Regions from separate parts of the Homo sapiens genome. Here all the other regions are linked to region 1. Evidence: promoter capture Hi-C in 16 types of primary human blood cells and fetal thymus (Javierre and others, 2016). All regions are on one chromosome and are shown on one strand. Each heading gives the region's core, a stretch centred on a gene start or on the middle of the fragment in contact. The rest is flanking DNA. Distances are from core to core; before and after follow the strand shown.

Region 1 (3,186 bases), core at 216-2,715:
GTGGAGTGGCAGAGAGAAGCCACCTGTGGCACAGGAGTCGTCAGTAGGAGTCGCAGGAGGAATTGATGCAGCATGGTGGGAGTGGACGTCACTTTCAAGGTGATCAGCCGTGAAGAGCGGCAAACACAGCGTCTTGGCTCGAGTTCCCCCAAACGGTGCCCCCTGGAACAAGAATTTGAGCACGAGTACAGTAGTTTTTTTGGGAGGTGATCCCAGGAAACATCGGTAGTCAGGGAAAGGAAGGAAGCCAACAGAAGATGCCCTGATGAGCAAGTTGCAGCTGTGGACAACCGCAGCCGTGGCCTACAGAGGACCACCGCAATACGCCTAGGACACACGCCTCCCCGCAGGGCACGTGCGGAGGGCGAGAGGGCCAGGGCATTCTCGACCAACTCTATCCCTCGTGGAGGGAGAGCAGCTGGGAAGGAGTGCAAGCACCCAGCACCTCTAAGTCTGCCCCATTTCTGCTCTGAGCGGGCTCTCCACAGCCAGCGGTTGCCTGCAGGTGGAGCCGGTGCGCAAGACAGGCGAGTGAGCGCCTGGCGGCCCCGTGGAATCTGGGCAACGATGGGAAGGAGAAGGGCGCTTTTACAATGTGCTCGGGTAGATACCGTGAGCATCGGGGGACAGGAAGGGGAGAGGCCCCAGGGTGTTCTTTATCTACAGGAGAGTAAAAGATGCAAGGCGCAGGGCTGATGTGGGTAATTTATGAGGGACTGTAGGAAGTTTGGGGGAGCTCTGATGATCATTGCCTTCTCTTTGTATCTCAAATGCAGCAGCACAGTCTTCAGAGTGGGCTATCAGAACCGAAGGGACTTTTAAGAGCCACTCTCCGCCGCTCATAAGGGGAAATCGAGGTCCGGAGAAGGGAAAGCAAGTGGCTGAATGCCGGTAAAAGGCAGGAAAAGAGCGGAGCCCAGGGCTCCAGGGGGTCGGTTTGGGACCTGCTTCCACCAGCAGAGTCTAAGGTCATCCCCTTGGCCGTGCGCCACCCTGGGCTCAGCCGAAGGAAGGAGCACTCGACACAAACAAAACCGACGCTCCGGGTCTCCGTAGTCGTTAAGCAAAGAGGAAGAGGAAGCGCTTCTTCATTAGGCCACAGGACCGGGCCTTAGAACTTTTGGGTTTTATCCATTAAAGGTCCTTTGGCAATAGAAGAAAAACCCAGATCGAGCCCTGCAAACTGGGATCTTCCGCCGGCACCGCCCCCCGGCTGCGACCCGGGGCTCGGAAAGAACCACCCCAGGCCCGGGCTCCGGTTCCACCGCACAGTCCGCCCGCTGCGGTAAAGCCGCGCCCACCGCCGCGGGTCTCCAACCCTGCGCCGCCGCCGCCCCCGGGGGAGGGTACGGAAAGGGCGCGGCGCCGCCGCCCACGGGCTCCTCCAGAGCGCGGCGGGGCCGGGCCGCGCGGAATCACGGGACAGAGGCGGGGCCGCGCCGGCGGGGGCGGGCGTGCGAGCGGCGCTTTCCTCTCCGGCACCCGGCGGGCGCCCGGGCGCGGCGCCGCCGGCACCCGAGAGGCGCGGTAGCCGGCGCGGGCGGCGGGGGCCGGGCCGCGGCGGGCGCCCGGGCGGGGTCCGCGCTGAGCCGCCTTCTCGGCCGCCTGGTCCCTGCGGCGGCTGCCCGGCGGCCCGGGCGCGCGGCGCTTCGCCATGTACACCTTCGTGGTACGCGATGAGAACAGCAGCGTCTACGCCGAGGTCTCCCGGCTGCTCCTCGCCACCGGCCACTGGAAGAGGCTGCGGCGAGACAACCCCAGATTCAACCTGATGCTGGGAGAGAGGAATCGGCTGCCCTTCGGGAGACTGGGTGAGCCCCTCCCCGATTCCCGTCTGCCCTCCTCGGAGCGGCCCTGCGCGCCTCCCGCGGCCCGTTAGAACCGGCGCTTTTGTTTTTAAAGGTCATACATTTTCTCCTCTGTCGCTTGTCGGGCACATCAGAAACGGATTCGGAAAGATCGAAACCTGTCGTTTTTAATGCTTTCTTGTCTCCTAACTTGGATTTAGAGTCGGAGTCGCGGTGCGGCCACTCGGGGCCGCAGCTACCTCCCGACGGTGACCGGTCCCTGCAGCCCGGGAGACGCTGGCCGCCGGGGCTGGGACCTGAGGCGCGAGTCTAGCGGCTCCCCCGGGCCGAAGCCCCCAGATTTGGCGGGTCCGCCGCGCTGGGCGCGGCTCCGCAGAGCGGGCGGCTGGAGTCATCTTTTGCAGCTCGTCTGCACTGAGGATTTCTCCCTGCTTGGCGTGGGCGCGGGCGGGGGAGCCGTAGGTGTTGAAACCCCTGAGGCTTCTGCCCCCCGAAGGCGCGGAGGAGCGATCAGAGGATTTGGAAAAGACCCCCGGATTCCAAAAGCAGGAGCTGCAGAAGAGACCCTAGCCCAGGGAAGTGTGGAGGGATGTCTGATTATAAACCTTTCCTTAGTTTCACCAAATAATGTGTTTTCGCAGTTCTGCATTGGATTAAGATCTTACACGAGGCTGCGTTCGCCCTCCCTGTCTTCCCTGCTCTCCCCGAGGGAATTACCTTCATCCACATGGTTGAAGCTGGCTGGGCACCACCATACCCACATGTCCACGGGTAGGAAAGCGCAGGAGATAGGAGGGGACTAGCGGCTCCTTTGTAAGTGATGTCATCCAGAAGTTGCCCAGATCGGTTCAACTCACATCCTATTGACCTGAGCATAGTCTCATGGCCTCCCTCTCTGCACAGTCATCTGGGAATTGCATCTTCTCTCCGGGGAGCCATGTTCCTTGCCAGAATTCACCAGAGGTGGGGGCCAATTGTATTCCAAAGACAAGGGGAGAATCGATACGGAGGAAGAGTCACCTCTACCTTGGAGGGCAACCCAGAGAGAGCAATGTTCTATGTCCAGGAGAGAAAACAGTTTTTAGAAATAGGTGTGGTCAGAATTCAAATGGGTAAAAACTGAATACGGGCCATTTGGAATTGACTGGTCATTTATGAGCTTCCATAGACAGAGCCTTTGGGAGGGGGCTGTGTAAAACTCAAATCGTTGGAGGAATGAAGAGCTGCAGTGTAAAGTTGCTGGATTTTCTTCTTTTGAATAGTACCTGGGACAACTTTTCATTGGTATACAAGTTTATGATGTAGAATGGTGACTCCATGGAAGGACCCATTTGAACACCCAGAAATCTTAGAATATGGAGACTGTGCCTGGAGGCTC
Region 2 (3,567 bases), core at 46-2,545, 400 kb before region 1:
ATAATAGGGTAGTTGCCTCCCACAAGCTCCCACAACCTCAGATTGCAGCAGGAGCCTGGAAGGAAAGTTGAGAATCTTGCTGTACAGGCCACACTGTACCAGAAACGTTGTAGTCACATTACCTCAAGAGGAGTATAGACAGCCCATGGAGGGATTGACAGCACACTCATCCCTCAACATTTGTGATGATAAACCCCTTCTTTACATTCTGCACTCTTTCGGAGAGCTCATCCATTGTTTTCCTCCTAAAGCTTTCTCTCCTGTGGAACTCTCTATCCTGAGCTACAGACATATATATCCAGTCACCTACAAAACAGCTTCTCAATGCCTTGCAATCTTCTCAACCTCTGAATGGCAAAAAGGGAGCTCATCCTTTCTGCCTTTGTGTGGCGGTCTCGCCCCAGCCCACACTTGCTGCCCTTCCAGGTGTTCCTCTCGCTGCATGATACTGCCAGGAGACCTCAGGACCATCTTTCACATCTTTCTTGGCTTCTTGCTCTGCCTGTAGTTCTAGATCTATCTTCGAGGCATTTGACAAGGTCTCTTGTGAGTTCTTGCAGGCAAGATGGAGCTGAAAACAGTGTGAACTGAAAACATCAGATGGATTCACAACTGGTTTTGCCACCATATTTTCTGAATATCTTTCTGAATCTTTCTGCTTCTCTCTGTGATCACTGCCGGTACTCTCATCATCTCTTAGTTTTCTGGAATAGTCTCCTGAGCATTTTCCTTGCCTGCAGTTTTGTTCCTCTCCAAACCATTGTAGGTAGAGCAATCTTGATAAAATAAAGCCATCCATTTTATTCCAGCAGTCAGCACATTTTTTCTGTCAAGGCCATAGAGGAAATATTTTGGCTTTGCAGGCCATATGGTCTCTGTTGTAACTATTCACCCTTGCCATCAAAGCATAAAAGCAGCCATAGACAACATGCAAACAAATGAGCATTGCTGTGTTCCCATAAAACTTTATGTTCAAAAACAGATCAGATGTAGGGCCAGATTTGGCCCATGGGCCATAGTTTACCAATCCCTCCTTTGTTCTTTTGTTTATTGTTATTGACTTCCCACTGCCCTTAACATCGAGTCCAGACTCCATGACAGGGGCTCCAAACTGCATGATTGGTCCCTGCCTTTATGACCAGCCTCTTTTCTTGACATCTACCATTACACTCTCTGCTGCAGGCATAATGAACTTTGACTTCTTGCAGCATAGTTTGCTTTTCCTCTTTTCTTCTCTGTGCCTTTGCACGTGCCGTGTTCTTTGCTTTGTCATCCCCCACCCCCAAATACTTAACTCCTACTTAGCCTTCAAGTCCTGATTTAGATGTCACTTTTTCTGAGTTTTTCAGGACCCAATTCTAGTTCCCCCAGGTGTAGATTAGACTGGCCTTCTTCCAAGTCTGGAGGGATGATGTGTTACCTCTTGCTCTTACCACACTGAGTTCTATTTACTTAGCCTAACCAGAGTACAAGCTCCATGAAGGCAGGGATCAAGATGTCTTTTTCACTATTATAGCCACACAGTAGGAGCATATCAGATACATTTTAAATGAATACATGATGAGGAGATCCTGGAGAAAAGAGAACTCTAGAGGATGTTGTGGTTTTTAAATATTTACAGGACAAGAAGAGAGAGTTCTGTAAAGAGCAAGAACAGAGGGAAGCTCAGGGAGACAGTGTTCGGGCTGATAGAAGAAAGCTGTGCCCAGTGGAGCAGATTAGATAGATAGGGAGTGAATTCTTGAGGCGAGTATGAATCCTTCACTGAAGTTTTCAAGCATCAGTTGGATTCAGTGACTTTTAAATCAAATGTGGCTGATTGGTCTGAAGTTCGAATGTAGTTATACACAGGACATGTTGTTGAGAATCTTGGTTGGCAGGCTTCCAGGTGTAGACAAAGTGAATTATTTTATTTTTTTCTTCCTCAGCCCAAGGCTTATTGATATTTGCGGAGTTGATTTCTGCGATTAAGAGGACGTTGGCTCGCCTTCTCGTGATCATTGTGAGCCTGGGCTATGGCATTGTGAAGTAAGTACTGGCGTGTGGGAAAAATGCTGGGTCCCAGCCCAGTGATTCAGTCCGTCTACATTATGACCTTTGTGAAAATGGAACTTCTAAGTATTGTAGTACAAATCCCTTTGGGAAAAATCTACAAGAACACATTTTTAAAAGATTTCCACATACTTGCTATTTTATGTTATCTTCCAATAAAGACCCTGAATTTTTATTTCAATAACTTTATATAGTTAGATGAATAAATAATCAACTTTAAGGATAATGGAAAATCTAAAATAATTCAAACCATTTTCAAACCCTTTTCTGTTATTTAGACAGTATCATTAAGCTTTTATGGTCCTATCTGAGTGTTGGAAGAGAGAGTGGATTAAACACCAAGTCAGCAAAACTTCTGACTGAAACCTGTCTGTCCCTCAAGGACTCTGCTTCTGGACCTTCTCCGGCGGGTCTTTTCCTCCTCTCACCTGTGAATCACTGGGCATAACTATGGGAGAACTTGATTTCTATCCTTGTTGTGTTTTTTCAGACCTTTCTTCCTGCTTCTTTCCTAAAACCCTGATTCCCAGAAGCTCACTCTTCAGGCTGGGTCACCTGCTGCATCTTGTTGTGGTCACTGTGAGCTTCCAGACCCTCCCTCATTCCTCAGCTCTGTGGGCACTGGCTTCACAGGTGTCGTCCTCAGCATTTCATCTGTCAGAAGGCCATGGGGTCTCAGGAGCCATGTGCATGACCCTTTAAGTAACCTGACCTCACCTCCCCACCTCTCCTGCTCTTGCCCATCACCATGTTTCAGCTACTGATTCCCAGTATCATTTTCTAGACTTTATTATATATATAACTGCACCCTCTTCAAAATCTCAATTTTAAGCAATCCACTTTTCAACTGTCAACCTCCTCTGTTTCCTGTTACTTTCTTTAACATGTCGGTGTCAGTCTTTTTCGACTATACTTTGGCCTCCAGCCTTTTGACCCTGGCACCTTCCGTTGTCCCTCCCCATCTTATATCCTTACCTTCTTCCTTTTGCTTGGATTCCCTGGTCCAGCAGGACATTGACACCCAAAGACCCCTGCCTTTCTCTTTGTCAACCTTCTTGACAAAACCCCAGCCTTGCTAAGTCCAGCTTTCCTTCTGCCTCAGGCTCCCACCCGAGCAGGGGAATTTGCCCAAAAAGAGCCCTGGACCACACTGAGGGGGCCTACTTGCCATTCATGACCCTAAACTTCACGTGCACCCTCAGTGCTGCTGGCAGTTGTACTCAATCCCCTTGCCACTATTTTCTCACTCTCCTGTCTGCAGAAGACCATTTTACCCCTTTCTCTCAGACTCTACCCTGACCTTCGGTTTTTTTTTCACTGAGGAAGTAGAAGCCATCAGAGGGGAATTCCACTGCATCTGTGCCCCCAGACCCTGTCATTTCCCCCACATCTGGACCGCATGAACCACTTTCCTCTTCTTGATAGTCACGGGCCACCCCTGCCTTTGTGCCCACTCAACTGTGAGGGAAACTGTCCTAGTGCTCGGTTTTGTTTTTTCTTGCATCGTCAGCTTTC
Region 3 (3,521 bases), core at 741-3,240, 280 kb before region 1:
GGCGGTCCCCCTGAGAAATTGCCCAGGGTGTCTTTTCTCCTTTAGCATCCCTGCATGCAACTCTCCCTCTTTGCATGGTGACAGACAGTTGTACGGTGGGCAGAGTCATTTCCTGGTGTCCATTTCTCTCATTTCTCTCATCGTCACTTTTCCAGTGACGGAGTGAAAAATTGCTCTATTGGCAGCAAGGCTGTCAGGGAGAACTGAGAGTTGAAACAAGCCACAACTTTTCAACATTGCTGCTCTAGAGCTAACCCATAAATGGCACCCATTCAGAACATGAATGTCACAAATCATCTAAGCATAAACTCTCCTAACACCCACTCACTCACACAGCCAGACAAGAGTACTGACTCTTCCAGAAACTCTCTAGTTTACAAAATCTCACCCATCCCTTCCAGGATCATCCTATGACTTTCTCTGGTCTCAAATGCCCTGTCTGTCCCCAATTCCCTCCTGTTAAGATGTTCCTCAGTTCCTCTCTGCTATGGTTTGAATGTGCCCCCAAATGTTCATGTGTTGGAAAATTAATCCCTCTGCCCTCATGAATGAATTAGTGTTAGCTCTGCCCTCATGAATGGATTAATGGGTTAATGAGGCCTGTGTGGTCATAAATGGATTAATGTCACTATCACAGGAGTGGGTTCGTTATTGAGGGAAGGGCTTTATTATAGAAGCGAGCTCTCTCTGGCTCTCCTGCTGTTGCCCTCTCACCATGTAATGCCCTTCACCGTGGTATGATGCAGCAAGAAGGCCTCACAAGATGCCAGTTCCATGCTCTTGAACTTCCCAGCCTCCAGAACCATGAGCTAAACATTTTCTTTATAAGTTACCCAGTCTGTGGTATTCTGTTATAGCAACAGAAAACAGACAAAGACACCCCCCATATGCAACCTCTTTTGCTGCAGCAAATAGTAAACCTGACTTTGTTGACTATATGTGGGTTCCTGGTGGTCTTTGACTGAGAGACATCAACTCCCAACTCAAGCAACCAGTGCTCTCAACTGCAATCCCTGATCCACTGGAGTGTGGTGATCAGCTGTGAAGTGTGTATTAGGTAATTGGTGGCTAGTACTAATTAAGATTCTCAAGCTTGGAAATAACAAAGGAGTATGGCTTGCCCAGGAGGAACTGTGCAGAGCCATGGGGGACACCTCAGATGTTCGTGGGAATGTCACATAAGGGGTGGCATGTATGCAGCTGGCTTATGCATAGGGAATCACTAGCTACATACTTGGCCATTCTCCTTCATTTCTGCCTTTGTCTGGGGAATTCTCGAATTACCTGAGCAGAAGGACACATCACCTCCATCTATGTTGTTTCATGGATAAGGCGTAAATGGTTTTTTTTGTTTGTTTTTTGTTTTATTTTGTTTTTAGACATAGTCTCGCTCTGTCCCCCAGTCTGGAGTGCAGTCGCACAATCTCGGCTCACTGCCACCTCTGCCTCCCAGATTCAAGCTATTCTCCTGCCTCAGCCTCACAAGTGGCTGGGATTACAGGTGCACCACCACCCGGCTAATTTTTGCATTTTTAGTAGAGGTGGGGTTTCGTCATGTTGGCCAGGCTGGTCTCGAACTCCTGAGCTCAGGTGATCCACCTGCTTCAGCCTCCCAAAGTACTGGGATTACAGGCGTTACAGGTGTGAGCCACCACACCCAGCCTAAATGTTTTTTAAAATCCTATTTATTCTCTTTCACTTAAAGGTCACCATTTTTCATATTGTTGGATGGAAAAAAGCAGCACCCATTTAAATGTTTAAATGTCAATGATGAATATTGAGCAAGTGCCTTTTATGTGCTTGATCCTTGCAGAGAATACAGCTTTGGATGGGGCAGGTACACTAAATGCCCTTCCACAGCTTCCAGAATGTCAGGGAGGACAATTTGAGACAAGGAGTGTGAGGGTTGCTGAGATCAAAGGAGGGTGGAAAGCGAGATGTACCCTTGCCTGGTTCACTAAGGCTGCCTCTGACAACAGAGGAAATGTGAGTGAGGCCTCTGAGGCAGGAGGCAGGGCCCAGTGACTGCTGTCCTGAATCTCTTTACAAATCCTGTGATTTGACCTGGAGAGTTCTGAACAACAGACACTTGCTCATTCATGGGTGGGCCCGGAAGGCCTGTTTCACGGACCATCGTGCAGCTCCCACACCACAGCCTTGTCACAGGTCCTTGCCAAGATTTAACAGAACAAAGGCCGTGGGCCCCAGCAGTGTCTTCCCAGGTGAAGATCTCTCAGGTCTCGCATTTGTTCCAGGGTACCCTGTTCCCTGCCTTGCCGTTCCAGCTCCTTGGCAGAAGGCCTGCACATCTTATTTGAAAAGTCAAGGGCATTTTTCCCTTCTTTTTTTTTCCTCCCCTGGTTCAGATGTAGGTGTAGGACACATCCCAAAGAACACAGCCCTCCAGAACTGCAGGCAGTCCAGAGTGGCAGGAGCCAGGGGAGGTTGGGCAGGTTTCTGTTTCCTGAGGGGCCACTCACATCATCTCCCCAACTTAGGGAGAACATAGAATCCTTCACAGCTACACAAGGACAGGCATTCAGTCTCTGAGATAATAAGGAATTCACAGCAACCAGGCTTTCCTCCTTCATGGACTGAAATGACTGTTTTATGTGCATTTGGCTGAAATAAGGAGCATTTCTGTTGATTCCAGGTTTACCTAACTGAGTTCAGCTACATGAGGAAGTTTAAATTGGCTTACAGTCTGTGGGCATATGGAAGGCTGAAAAGAGCTGGTGTGTCAGCAGATATGAGGCTGAATCACAAATTCATTCAGGAAGTCCAAGATTAAAGTCTAGTTTATATTATTATGTAACAAATATACCTGCCAAGCAACACATCCAGGCAAATAAATTTGGAGTATTTTTATGTAGGATACAGCTGGGATACAAAGCTTGTATATATTTAAGACTTATGGGAATGGTAAATAAGACTACTTCTGTGGAATCTCTTAAAAAGGTAGTTTAAAAATTTGGAGCATGGAGTAAAGGTCCCAAATTCTTATGAACTAGGAGCTTCCTGCTAACAGTCATGTGCACTTTATCTGTTAATTGTTTACTGTCTCATTCCTCTGAGTGCAATTGCGTTCCCCAGGAAGATGAGTCTCTGGACATGCCAGGCAAGGAAAGGTGATTTTGAAATAAAAGTACTAGAAGACGACATGTTCAATTTTCATACCAGTCATAAATACGTATATAGTTCTATTTATATATACACTTCTATTTATATATTACATATATAGATATGAAATATATTTAGAAATATATATATTTTTAAGTGCAGGGTTTTTTTAAAAGGTATTGTGATGTCAAACCACACTTAAAAGTGAGTTAAGGTTTCTACCTCTGGAACAGCAGAGTAAAAATCTTCAAAAATCCACTCCTCTATGAAAGACATAAAAACACTGCCAAAACAGTCAAAAATCAACTTTTTCAGAATCTGGAAATTAACTGAAGGCTAGCAACAATTTGAAGAGAATTTATTCAAGCAAAACAGCTGAATCTTGGTGAAATGCCTGTGGC
Region 4 (3,371 bases), core at 110-2,609, 340 kb before region 1:
CCTAGGCAACAGAGCAAGACGCCGTCTCAAAGAAAAAAAAGATTTACATGGGTCCCGTTCCACCTCCTTTGCATGGGAAGGTTGGGGGAGCAGCACTGTAGGATTTCCTGGGCAACCAATGCCCAGGAGGCCAGCCTAAACCATGTCCCCTGCTTTTTGGGGCACTGGCTAGGTTCTGAATGTTGGTGTCTCCCCTAAATTTATATGTTGGAAACCTCATTCCCAAGATGATGGCATTAGGAGGTGGGACCTTTGGGAGGTGACTAGGTCATGAGTGCAGAGCCCTCAAAATTGGGATTAGTGCCCTCAGAAAAGAGGCCCCAGAGAGCTGCCTTTCCCCTGTGAGGACACGGGAACCAGAACTCTGGCCCTCGCCAAACACCTAATCTATTGACACCTTGATCTTGGACCTCCCAGTCTCCAGAACTGTGAGAAACACGTTCTATTGTTTATAAGCCACTCAGTTTATGGTATTTTGCTATAGCAGTTTGAAGGGACTAAGCCAGGACTCCAGCTTTCCTTTCTGGCCTCTGCTGGGAAACAGCTCCTGCTCTGTGGTCACAGTCTTGTGGGCTCCCCGTTCCCTGAGCTCTGAGTGGGCTCAACAAAGTGAAATGTGGAAGAGGAAAAAGAGATCTGGGGCTTGACCAGACTTGTGTGTCCCAGGACATCTGCAGTGACTGCCTTCAGAAAACCTTCCAGGAAGAACGTCAGTCATGCCTTCCGGGAGCTCAGGTCTGAGGCATCTGGTTGTACCACAGCCCTGATGGCAGGGGACTTCAGACTGCTCATGCCGGCCTGGCACTTCCTGATTCGACTTCAGCAAGGCAGGCAATGTTCTAGAACCTGACCTCCGATTTAAACTGAGTTTCTCCTTCCCTTGAGCAAGGAGGACAGTGAATCAGAAGGACGTAGATCCCCTCACTGTATCACTGTGTGTGTATCTACTCACTGTGCGTGCGTGTTCTCACGGCCCCATTGCATTATTTAAAGGGACACTAGTTTATTCGGATGGAGAGCTCAGTCCACCCCACGTCAAGCTTATGAAGCCCATTTCCTGGCCCCCTTCTAGGAATGTCGGGAGGAGGGTGTCGCGTGGGCTTTGAAGTAGGACAGACCTGGGTTTGGGTTTCTGTTCTGCCACTTGTCCTTGGTGACTGAGCCTCAGTCTACTTGGTTGGGAAATAGGACGGTCGGGAGTGAACCCGCCCAGGGTGGGCTTCCAGTCACCCGCACATATGCGGGGCACTGGCCGCCCATCCCTGCCAGGCCCCGAGGATGCCCGCGCTCGTCCTCGGCGTCGCGGGTTGGGCGCGCTCCCGGGCGCATTCCCGGCCGGGCAGCCCCTCCTCCCTCGTCCTTAGCCCAGGGGCCGGCGCCTCCCCGCCTCGCGCGGACTGTCTCGTGCGGGCAGCTGCGGGCGCACCTGGACCCTCGCAAGGCCCGGGCGGCGCCGATCCCCGCGGGACGCGCTGCGCTCGGGGCCTCCCGCCTCCCCCCCTGCCCCAGCCGCCCCCCGGCCGCGCGGCGCCCCGCACCCTGCAGGGACGGCTGCCGCATCGCTGGGACAAACTCGGCAGCGGAGGCAAAGTTATTTCCCCTCCCAGGCAGCGGGATTCCGACTGGCAAGATGGTGCCCAGCTCTCCGCGCGCGCTCTTCCTTCTGCTCCTGATCCTCGCCTGCCCCGAGCCGCGGGCTTCCCAGGTCAGTGTCCCTCCCGCCTCTCTCCAGGCCAGTGTCCCTCCCGCCTCTCTCCAGGCCAGTGTCCCTCCCGCCTCTCTCCAGGCCAGCGTCCCTCCCGCCTCTCTCCCCTGTCCCTCCCGCCTCTCTCCCCTGTCCCTCCCGCCTCTCTCCAGGTCAGTGTCCCTCCCGCCTCTGTCCCCTGTCCCGCGCGCCTCTCTCCACGCCAGTGTCCCTCCCGCCTCTCTCCAGGCCAGCGTCCCTCCCGCCTCTCTCCAGGCCAGCGTCCCTCCCGCCTCTCTCCAGGTCAGCGTCCCTCCCGCCTCTCTCCAGGCCAGCGTCCCTCCCGCCTCTCTCCAGGTCAGCGTCCCTCCCGCCTCTCTCCAGGCCAGTGTCCCTCCCGCCTCTCTCCAGGCCAGCCAGTGTCCCTCCCGCCTCTCTCCACGCCAGTGTCCCTCCCGCCTCTCTCCAGGCCAGTGTCCCTCCCGCCTCTCTCCAGGCCAGTGTCCTTCACGCCTCTCTCCAGGTCAGTGTCCCTCCCGCCTCTCTCCAGGCCAGCGTCCCTCCCGCCTCTCTCCAGGTCAGCGTCCCTCCCGCCTCTCTCCAGGCCAGCGTCCCTCCCGCCTCTCTCCACGCCAGTGTCCCTCCCGCCTCTCTCCAGGTCAGTGTCCCTCCCGCCTCTCTCCAGGCCAGTGTCCCTCCCGCCTCTCTCCAGGCCAGTGTCCCTCACGCCTCTCTCCAGGTCAGTGTCCCTCCCGCCTCTCTCCAGGCTAGTGTCCCTCCCGCCTCTCTCCAGGCCAGCGTCCCTCCCGCCTCTCTCCAGGTCAGCGTCCCTCCCGCCTCTCTCCAGGCCAGCGTCCCTCCCGCCTCTCTCCACGCCAGTGTCCCTCCCGCCTCTCTCCAGGCTAGTGTCCCTCCCGCCTCTCTCCAGGCCAGCGTCCCTCCCGCCTCTCTCCAGGTCAGCGTCCCTCCCGCCTCTCTCCAGGCCAGCGTCCCTCCCGCCTCTCTCCACGCCAGTGTCCCTCCCGCCTCTCTCCAGGTCAGTGTCCCTCCCGCCTCTCTCCACGCCAGTGTCCCTCCCGCCTCTCTCCAGGCCAGTGTCCCTCCCGCCTCTCTCCAGGCCAGTGTCCCTCCCGCCTCTCTCCACGCCAGTGTCCCTCCCGCCTCTCTCCAGGCCAGTGTCCCTCCCGCCTCTCTCCCCTGTCCCGCGCGCCTCTCTCCATGCCAGTGTCCCTCCCGCCTCTCTCCACGCCAGTGTCCCTCCCGCCTCTCTCCAGGCCAGCGTCCCTCCCGCCTCTCTCCAGGTCAGCGTCCCTCCCGCCTCTCTCCAGGCCAGCGTCCCTCCCGCCTCTCTCCACGCCAGCGTCCCTCCCGCCTCTCTCCACGCCAGCGTCCCTCCCGCCTCTCTCCACGCCAGTGTCCCTCCCGCCTCTCTCCACGCCAGTGTCCCTCCCGCCTCTCTCCAGGCCAGCGTCCCTCCCGCCTCTCTCCAGGCCAGTGTCCCTCCCGCCTCTCTCCCCTGTCCCGCGCGCCTCTCTCCACGCCAGTGTCCCTCCCGCCTCTCTCCAGGTCAGTGTCCCTCCCGCCTCTCTCCAGGTCAGTGTCCCTCCTGCCTCTCTCCAGGCCAGCATCCCTCCTTCCTCTCTCCCCTGTCCCGCGCGCAGGGGAGGCAGCACCAAGGCTGGGGGAC
Region 5 (3,438 bases), core at 407-2,906, 380 kb before region 1:
GTTTTAATGATATTTTCATTCTTTCTGTTATTTTCTACATAGCATTTTATCATTTTATTAATTTTATTGTAATCTAATTAAGCATCTGTTAAGGCAACATCAATAAGTAACTCAGATGTTGAGGGTAATTTTATCTTTGTTTCATTTTTTTGTCCTCTTACTTTTGCTTCTCTTAGTAACATTCTTTTTCACCTTCTGTTTTGGTTCTCTAATACATCGATGAAATAGAAAACAGGAAAACAAATAGAAAAAAATCATCAAATCTAAAAGTAATTACTTTGAAAAGCTTAGTGAAAAGTGGCTTAACCTCTAGCTACTCTAAACCAGAAATAAAGAAAAAACTACAGTGGACCCTTGAACAATGTAGGGTTAGGGGCACCAAACTCCTGAGCAGTTGAAAATCTACTTATAACTTTTGACTCTCCCAGAACTTAACTACTGATAGTCAACTGTTGACCAGAAGCCTTACTGTTAACATAGTTATCACATATTTTGTGTATTATATGTATTTTATACTGTATTCTTACAATAAAGTAGGTGGAGCAAAGAAAATGTTATTAGGTAGAAGGAAAGGGGAGGCAGCAAAGGCAGACATATGTGGTGTAACTTTTATTGAAAAAAACTTGCATGTAGGTGGACCTGAGCAGTTCAAACCCATATTATTCAAAAGTCAACTGTAGTACAGTAAGACAAACTTCTAATGTTGGAAATGATAGAGAGGACATTACTATGGTAAAAAAGGTAAATAAGGAAATATTATGAACAATTTTATGGTAACAAATTGGGCAATCTGGATGAGGCAGACAAGTTCATTGAAAAATACAAGTTCATTGAAAAATACATATAACAACCCAATTTTAATTCTAACCCTGTGCCACTAAGTCTGAATAGCTCTGATCTATTAGAAATTTAAAAAAAATTTTTTTAATTTAAAATCTTCCTATGAAGTACCAGGCCCAAATGATTCACTAGTGAGTCCTTTCAAATACTTAAGGAAGAAATGGAAGAAATATTCTAATTTTACACAAAATCTTTAGAAGGTAAAGGAGGTGGGAGTACTTAAAAGGCCAGTACAATTGAAATGCCAAAGTCTAACAGACGTTACAAGAAAAAATTATAGACCAAAAATTATAGACCACTTATAGACCAATATATCATTAATGAGTGGGCATACAAAAATTCTTTAAAAATATTAGCAAATAAAATCTAGCAAAATATAGAAAGACAATCATGATCAAGTGGACTTTATCCCAGGGTTGCAAGGCTGTTTTAACATTCCGAAAATCACTCAGTATAATTCATCATATTAAAATAGTACAAATAAGGCTGGGTGCGGTGGCTCATGCCTGTAATCCCAGCAGTTTGGGAGACTGAGGCAGGCAGATCACCTGAGGTCAGGAGTTCGAGACCAGCCTGGCCAACATGGCAAAACCCCCTCTTGACTAAAAATACAAAAATTAGCCGGGCGTGGTGGTGTGTGCCTGTAATCCCAGCTACTTAGGAGGCAGAGACGGGAGAATTGCATGAACCCAGGAGGCAGAGTTTGCAGTGAGCCAAGCCACTGCACGCCAGCCTGGACAACAGAACAAGACTCTGTCTCAAAAACATAAATAAATAAATAAAAATAAAAATAAAATAGTACAAATAAAAGAAGAAAGAAGAAAAAAATGACAAAAGTATCTCAGTGGGTACAAATAACAAAAGCCTCAGCAAACTAATTCTAAAATGGTATGAAAACACTCCACAGTTAAAATTCTATTTAATGGTGAAATAGTGAACACTTTCTTCTCAAGATTAGGGATAAAGTGCAAGGGTATGTACATACCACTTTGATTCTGCATTGTATGGGAGGTCCTACCTAGTGCAGAGAAGCAAAACAAAACTCCAAAGAATGTGAAAGAAAGAACATGTGGAAAGGAGGAAGTAAAACTGTGTTTATTCGCAGGCAACATGGTTATGTATGGAAAAATCCCAAGGAGTCTAAAGAAAAGAAAAAGTACGGTAGAACTAAGTGACTGTGACAGTCATAGGGTATATGTCCAATGTACAGAAGTCAGTTGTTTTTCTACATATTAACTGAAAACAATTGAAGGTGAAGTTTAAAATGTTATTTACCATACCTTCAAAAATAAAATACTTGGAATAAGTTTAATGAAAAATACGTAAAACCTCTGCAATGAAGACTATAAAACAATGCAGAGATAAATTTTAGAATAAGTAAATGTAGAGATAGAACCTGTGTCTGAATTGGAACTCTCAGTATTAAGCTCTCAGTTTCCCAGTCTGATAAATAGATTCAGTGCAATCCCAATTATAATTCTAGCTGACTTAAAAAAAAATACAGTGGTTAAGTTGATTCTAAAATGTATATGGAAAAGCAAAAGACGTAGAAGATCCTTAACATTCTTGTAGTTACAACATGGATGAACCTTGAAAACATTATGTTAAGTGAAAGAAGCCAATCACAAAAGACCACATACTGTATAATTTTGTTTATATGAAAGGTCCAGAACAGACAAGTCCGTAGAGGCGGAAAGTAGATCAGTGCTTGTCACAGGTTAGAGGAGGGGGAAAGTAAGGACTGACTGCTAATGGGTTTGGGGTTTCTTTGTGGGGTGATGAAAATTTTCCAAAATTGGAGAGTGGTGAATATCTCAAATCTCTGTGAATATCTCAAAATCTAACTGTACTTCAATATGGTATGCGAATTATCTCTCAATAAAATAAAATTAGTGGATTTATACTGATTTCAAGACATAATTATTTCAGATTACAGCAATCCAGACAGTGTGGTATTGGCATAAGGATAGAGAAATCCATCAAGGTAGTAAAATAGAGTCCAGGAATAAACCCATGCATGTGTGGTCAGTTGATTTTTGACAAAGGCACCAAGGCTTACATGAAGAGAGGATAGTCTTTTTAATAAATGGTACTGGAACAACTGGATAAATGTGTAGGAAAAAAAATCATTAGACTTTTGTTGCACATCTCACAATCAATTCAAGATGGATCACAGACCTAATGGAAAAGCTTCAACTGTTATTCTTCTAGAAGAAAAAAGGAAAATATTTTAATGACGTTGGATGGGGTAATTTCTTAGGACATGAAAAACAGTAACCATTAAATTAAAAAATGAGACTTTATCAAAATTTAAAATCTATGCTCATCAGGAAGAATTTAAGAAAATAAGAAGGCTAGCTACAGTGGGAGATAAAATATTCTCAGTACATATATATCTGACAAAGGGCTTATATCCAGAATATAAGTAGAATTCCTGTAAATCAATAAATGATAACCTATGTTGCAAAAAATGAGCAGAAGACTAGTGTAGACACTTCAAAGAAGACATAGGAATGGCCAATAAACCCGTTAAAAGGTGCTCAATATAATCAGTCATCAGGGAAATGCAAATTAAGACCATAATGAGCTGCCACCACA
Region 6 (3,432 bases), core at 716-3,215, 360 kb before region 1:
AAAATACAGAATAAAGTTTCTCCACAAAAGTGTTTATTATAATATTAAAGTAGAAATAAAATTAGAGACAAACAATATCATAGTTAAGTGAATTATGGTTTAACCAGCTACTTTATGAGATATTGTATAGCCATTAAATTATGAAGAATTTATAATAAAAATACTTATAAGAACTGTGATGCAGTGGCACATATGTGAATGCTTATCTATGTAAAAATAAGGTAGAGCAACTTACTCTCATGGTTCAGAAAAAATGCATTCTATCTTCCAACTTTTCTGTAAAGTTACAGAATTAAGTAATTACATAATTCTTAATTACATAAATAATTACATAATTAATTATTATTTTGAAATAAAGATAATTTAAAAAAAAAAAGGCCGGGCGTAGTGGCTCACGCCTGTAATCCCAGCACTTTGGGAGGCCAAGGTGGGTGGATCACAAGGTCAGGAGATCGAGACCATCCTGGCCAACATGGTGAAACCCTGTCTCTACTAAAAAAAAAATACAAAAAATTAGCCGGGCGTGGTGGCGGGCGCCTGTAGTCCCAGCTACTCGGGAGGCTGAGGCAGGAGAATGGCGTGAACCCGGGAGGCAGAGCTTGCAGTGAGCTGAGATTGGGCCACTGCACTCCAGCCTGGGCGACAGAGCGAGACTCCGTCTCAAAAAAAAAAAAAAAAAAAAAGTAGAGAAAGGATTGAGTGGAAAAGCACTGGGGTGGCATACATGGTTAGTGTTGAGGCTCAGCCAGGCTGTGGTCACAACTTGATTTTAGCCTTTCAGAAACTTAAGACAAAAAGTTTATTTCTTGCTCATGTGACAATTCTTCAGTAGGTATAGAGGTGGGAAGGGCCACCCTCCTCCACATGTCCCTCAGACACCCGGGGTTTATTTCCATCTTGCGGACCCACCATACCCTAGGGCCTAATTTTTACCCCTAATTTTCTAAGAAACATATTCAACATAAATATGTAAAAATAATAGTGCCTTGGCCAGGCGCAGTGGCTCACACCTGTAATCCCAGCACTTTGGGAGGCCGAGATGGGTGGGTCACGAGGTCAGGAGATCGATACCATTCTGGCTAACACAGTGAAACCGCATCTCTACTAAAGATAGAAAAAAATTAGCTGGGCATGGTGGCAGGCACCTGTAGTCCCAGCTACTCGGGAGGCTAAGGCAGGAGAATGGCGTGAATCTGGGAGGCGGAGCTTGCAGTGAGCCGAGATTGTGCCACTGCACTCCAGCCTGGGCGACAGAGCGAGACTCTCAATAATAATAATAATAATAATAATAATAATAATAATAATAGTGCCTTAGACTATGTATCAGAAAATCTAGAAAAGTGTGTCTTGGTTCACAGCTTAATCTTAATTAATTTAAAAAATCCATCTTGCTGTAAGTAGATGGGACATGGAGAATTTTCTTCATGGACATTCTCCCACCTTTGACATGTGAGGAGTGAGAGGGACAAGATGGATAGTCCCAGAGGGAAAGGAAGGGCTGTTGTCATAAGACTGATGACCATTTTGGCAGACTTGGGAGCACTTGCAGAGTGCCAGGCTTTGGTAACCACTGTATTCTCACAGTAGCCAATGAAGTATTAGTTCCCTTGGTTCATAGATTAGAAAACTGAGAGAGAGGTTAAATAATTTGATAGTTTACCATCCTGGCAGGTGGCAAGGCTGGTATAATACTGGTGGGAATCATCCTAGAAGGGTTGTCCTCGAAGTCCTGAGGAGAGAGGAGTTTCGGTTAACAAAGTGCTGTTTGCTTGTTAGAGAAGGTTAAGTAAGACAATGTATCTAAAGTGCCTGGTGCATAGCCTTCAGGAGGCAGCTAAGGTTAATGTGAAAGGTACAGCAATGATTGAGGGGTGACTGAGACTCAATTGAAACAAATGGCATATGAAATTCAAACACATTCCAGGATTGATTCACTTGTATTAAGATGAAGTTACCCAGAGCAAGTTTTATGCCCCTTAAGTGATAGGGAATGTACAGCTACATTAACAGAGGTGACCTGATATTTACATCTGGTCAGAGGCTGACCTGATTTATATCTGATTTCAGATGTAAATAATTTTGACAGTATTTCCTTAAAATCATTTTGAAAAAACAAGAAGCTGCAATGGAAGTTTATGCACAGGAAAAAATGTGAAAGCTATCCAGCAGGTGGTGCCAAAGTAATGTCTCTTGAAGAGTTCTAATCTTTTTTTCTTTTCTCTAATTCTTCCCTTTACAGATTTTATAAATTTACTTACCAAATGCCACTAAACAAATTTGGGGATGAAGAAAAAAACTTAAAAATAATTCACACAGCACTGCCCTGGAAAAACAGTTATTTTGGTATATTTTAAAACTTTAAAGCTGGAAAGAGCCTCTAAGATCATCTTACAAATGAGGAAATGGAGGACCAGGAAAGTGTCACTGGCTACAGTTCCCTCAGACCAGGGTTGAAGACTGCCTCCTAGTTTGTTTTTCTCACCTCTGGTCCTTATTGTCAGGGGGAAAGAGATGCCACAGAAGGGTTGGACTGGGCATCAAAACTTGAAATACATTTTATATACTTTGGTGACCACTTGCTACGTCATTTCATATGACTTCATTGTCTTTTCAGCTTCCAAATTCTTGTTTCTACATGGTCATAATTCCAGTTCTCTGTTTCTTCATTTGATAAGTGGAGATTTTCTTGGGGTTCAGTGGAGTCTGCTGGAAAGGCTTGTCTTTATTTGACCTGAGTCACAGCTTTCCCAGTGCTAAATGCCTCTTTCCAGGGGATACTTATTAAAAATATTCACAGGCATGTTTTTTAATGTCACAGCTGCCTAAAGCAAAAAATAACATTCAAAGCAAACAACAGACTGACCAAAAACCTTAAAAGGAAAGTCTAAAGAATGAGATGACCATAAGGCCTTTGAAAAACCTTCAACATACTTACAGGAATCTAAAAGGTCACATGCATGCATAGGGCTCTGCATGCTCAGCAAAGACCACAAACAAGAAGTGAAGGCTAAGGCAGAGTTAGTTGTAAACTGCCTGAATGAGTGCTGAAGGTGTGCCCCACCATACACACAAGCACCTCGGCAAAGACTGGGAGATTTACTGGTTCCGAGAGGTTAAGAAAGTCTCTGTCCAATAATTGTCTAACCATTACATAACTGAGTAGAGACTTCAGTGACCACATATCACAAAATATACAGACTTTACGGAATTAGTTTAGAGAACTCACTAAACAACTACTACAACAAGTAGTAACAACAGCAAACCATTGAAGGGGAAGGAACTGGTTTTCAGAGTTACCACATTATATTATTTAAAATGTCTAGTATTTACCAAAAAATTATGACATAAGCAAAGAAATGACAGTGTATCTCTCACAAGAAAAAAAAGAGCATCAAAACAAAATGTTCCTGAGAAAGACCAGATGTTTGACTT

Evidence for each region. The method cuts DNA at HindIII sites, captures the fragments that hold promoters and counts their contacts. A CHiCAGO score of 5 or more calls a contact.
Region 2: a contact is called between a fragment that was not itself captured here and the fragment with the promoter of TTL in region 1, in 7 of 17 cell types (endothelial precursors, erythroblasts, M1 macrophages and 4 more). The highest score is 7.8, in endothelial precursors.
Region 3: a contact is called between a fragment that was not itself captured here and the fragment with the promoter of TTL in region 1, in 1 of 17 cell types (endothelial precursors). The highest score is 6.5, in endothelial precursors.
Region 4: a contact is called between the fragment with the promoter of FBLN7 here and the fragment with the promoter of TTL in region 1, in 8 of 17 cell types (endothelial precursors, activated CD4 T cells, erythroblasts and 5 more). The highest score is 7.3, in endothelial precursors.
Region 5: a fragment that was not itself captured here is called in contact with the fragment with the promoter of TTL in region 1 in 7 of 17 cell types (megakaryocytes, endothelial precursors, M0 macrophages and 4 more); the score reaches 7.3 in megakaryocytes.
Region 6: a contact is called between a fragment that was not itself captured here and the fragment with the promoter of TTL in region 1, in 6 of 17 cell types (erythroblasts, naive CD4 T cells, total B cells and 3 more). The highest score is 9.3, in erythroblasts.

Annotation. Positions count from the first base shown.
Region 1 is chr2:112,480,691-112,483,876 of GRCh38, forward strand. TTL (tubulin tyrosine ligase) reads left to right here and starts at 1,466. Exons shown (of 7, transcript NM_153712.5): 1 at 1,466-1,811. The coding sequence starts at 1,655. RefSeq lists an enhancer at 797-866 and silencers at 1,187-1,576, 2,137-2,236. The HindIII fragment of the contact is 5,056 bases long and covers 1-3,186 here.
Region 2 is chr2:112,084,077-112,087,643 of GRCh38, forward strand. It overlaps TMEM87B (transmembrane protein 87B), which reads left to right. Exons shown (of 19, transcript NM_032824.3): 9 at 1,929-2,028. Among named protein-coding and RNA genes, the nearest start is that of TMEM87B, 31 kb to the left of the region's middle. RefSeq lists an enhancer at 3,295-3,384. The HindIII fragment of the contact is 2,093 bases long and covers 250-2,342 here.
Region 3 is chr2:112,199,177-112,202,697 of GRCh38, forward strand. It overlaps a transcript of FBLN7 not described here. Among named protein-coding and RNA genes, the nearest start is that of ZC3H8, 54 kb to the right of the region's middle. The HindIII fragment of the contact is 1,801 bases long and covers 1,091-2,891 here.
Region 4 is chr2:112,137,026-112,140,396 of GRCh38, forward strand. It overlaps FBLN7 (fibulin 7), which reads left to right and starts at 1,360. Exons shown (of 8, transcript NM_153214.3): 1 at 1,360-1,705. The coding sequence starts at 1,631. RefSeq lists an enhancer at 3,177-3,371. The HindIII fragment of the contact is 8,502 bases long and covers 1,039-3,371 here.
Region 5 is chr2:112,101,088-112,104,525 of GRCh38, forward strand. The region is part of intron 15 of TMEM87B (transmembrane protein 87B); the gene reads left to right. Among named protein-coding and RNA genes, the nearest start is that of FBLN7, 36 kb to the right of the region's middle. The HindIII fragment of the contact is 2,744 bases long and covers 285-3,028 here.
Region 6 is chr2:112,119,693-112,123,124 of GRCh38, forward strand. No RefSeq gene overlaps it. Among named protein-coding and RNA genes, the nearest start is that of FBLN7, 17 kb to the right of the region's middle. The HindIII fragment of the contact is 9,145 bases long and covers 1-3,432 here.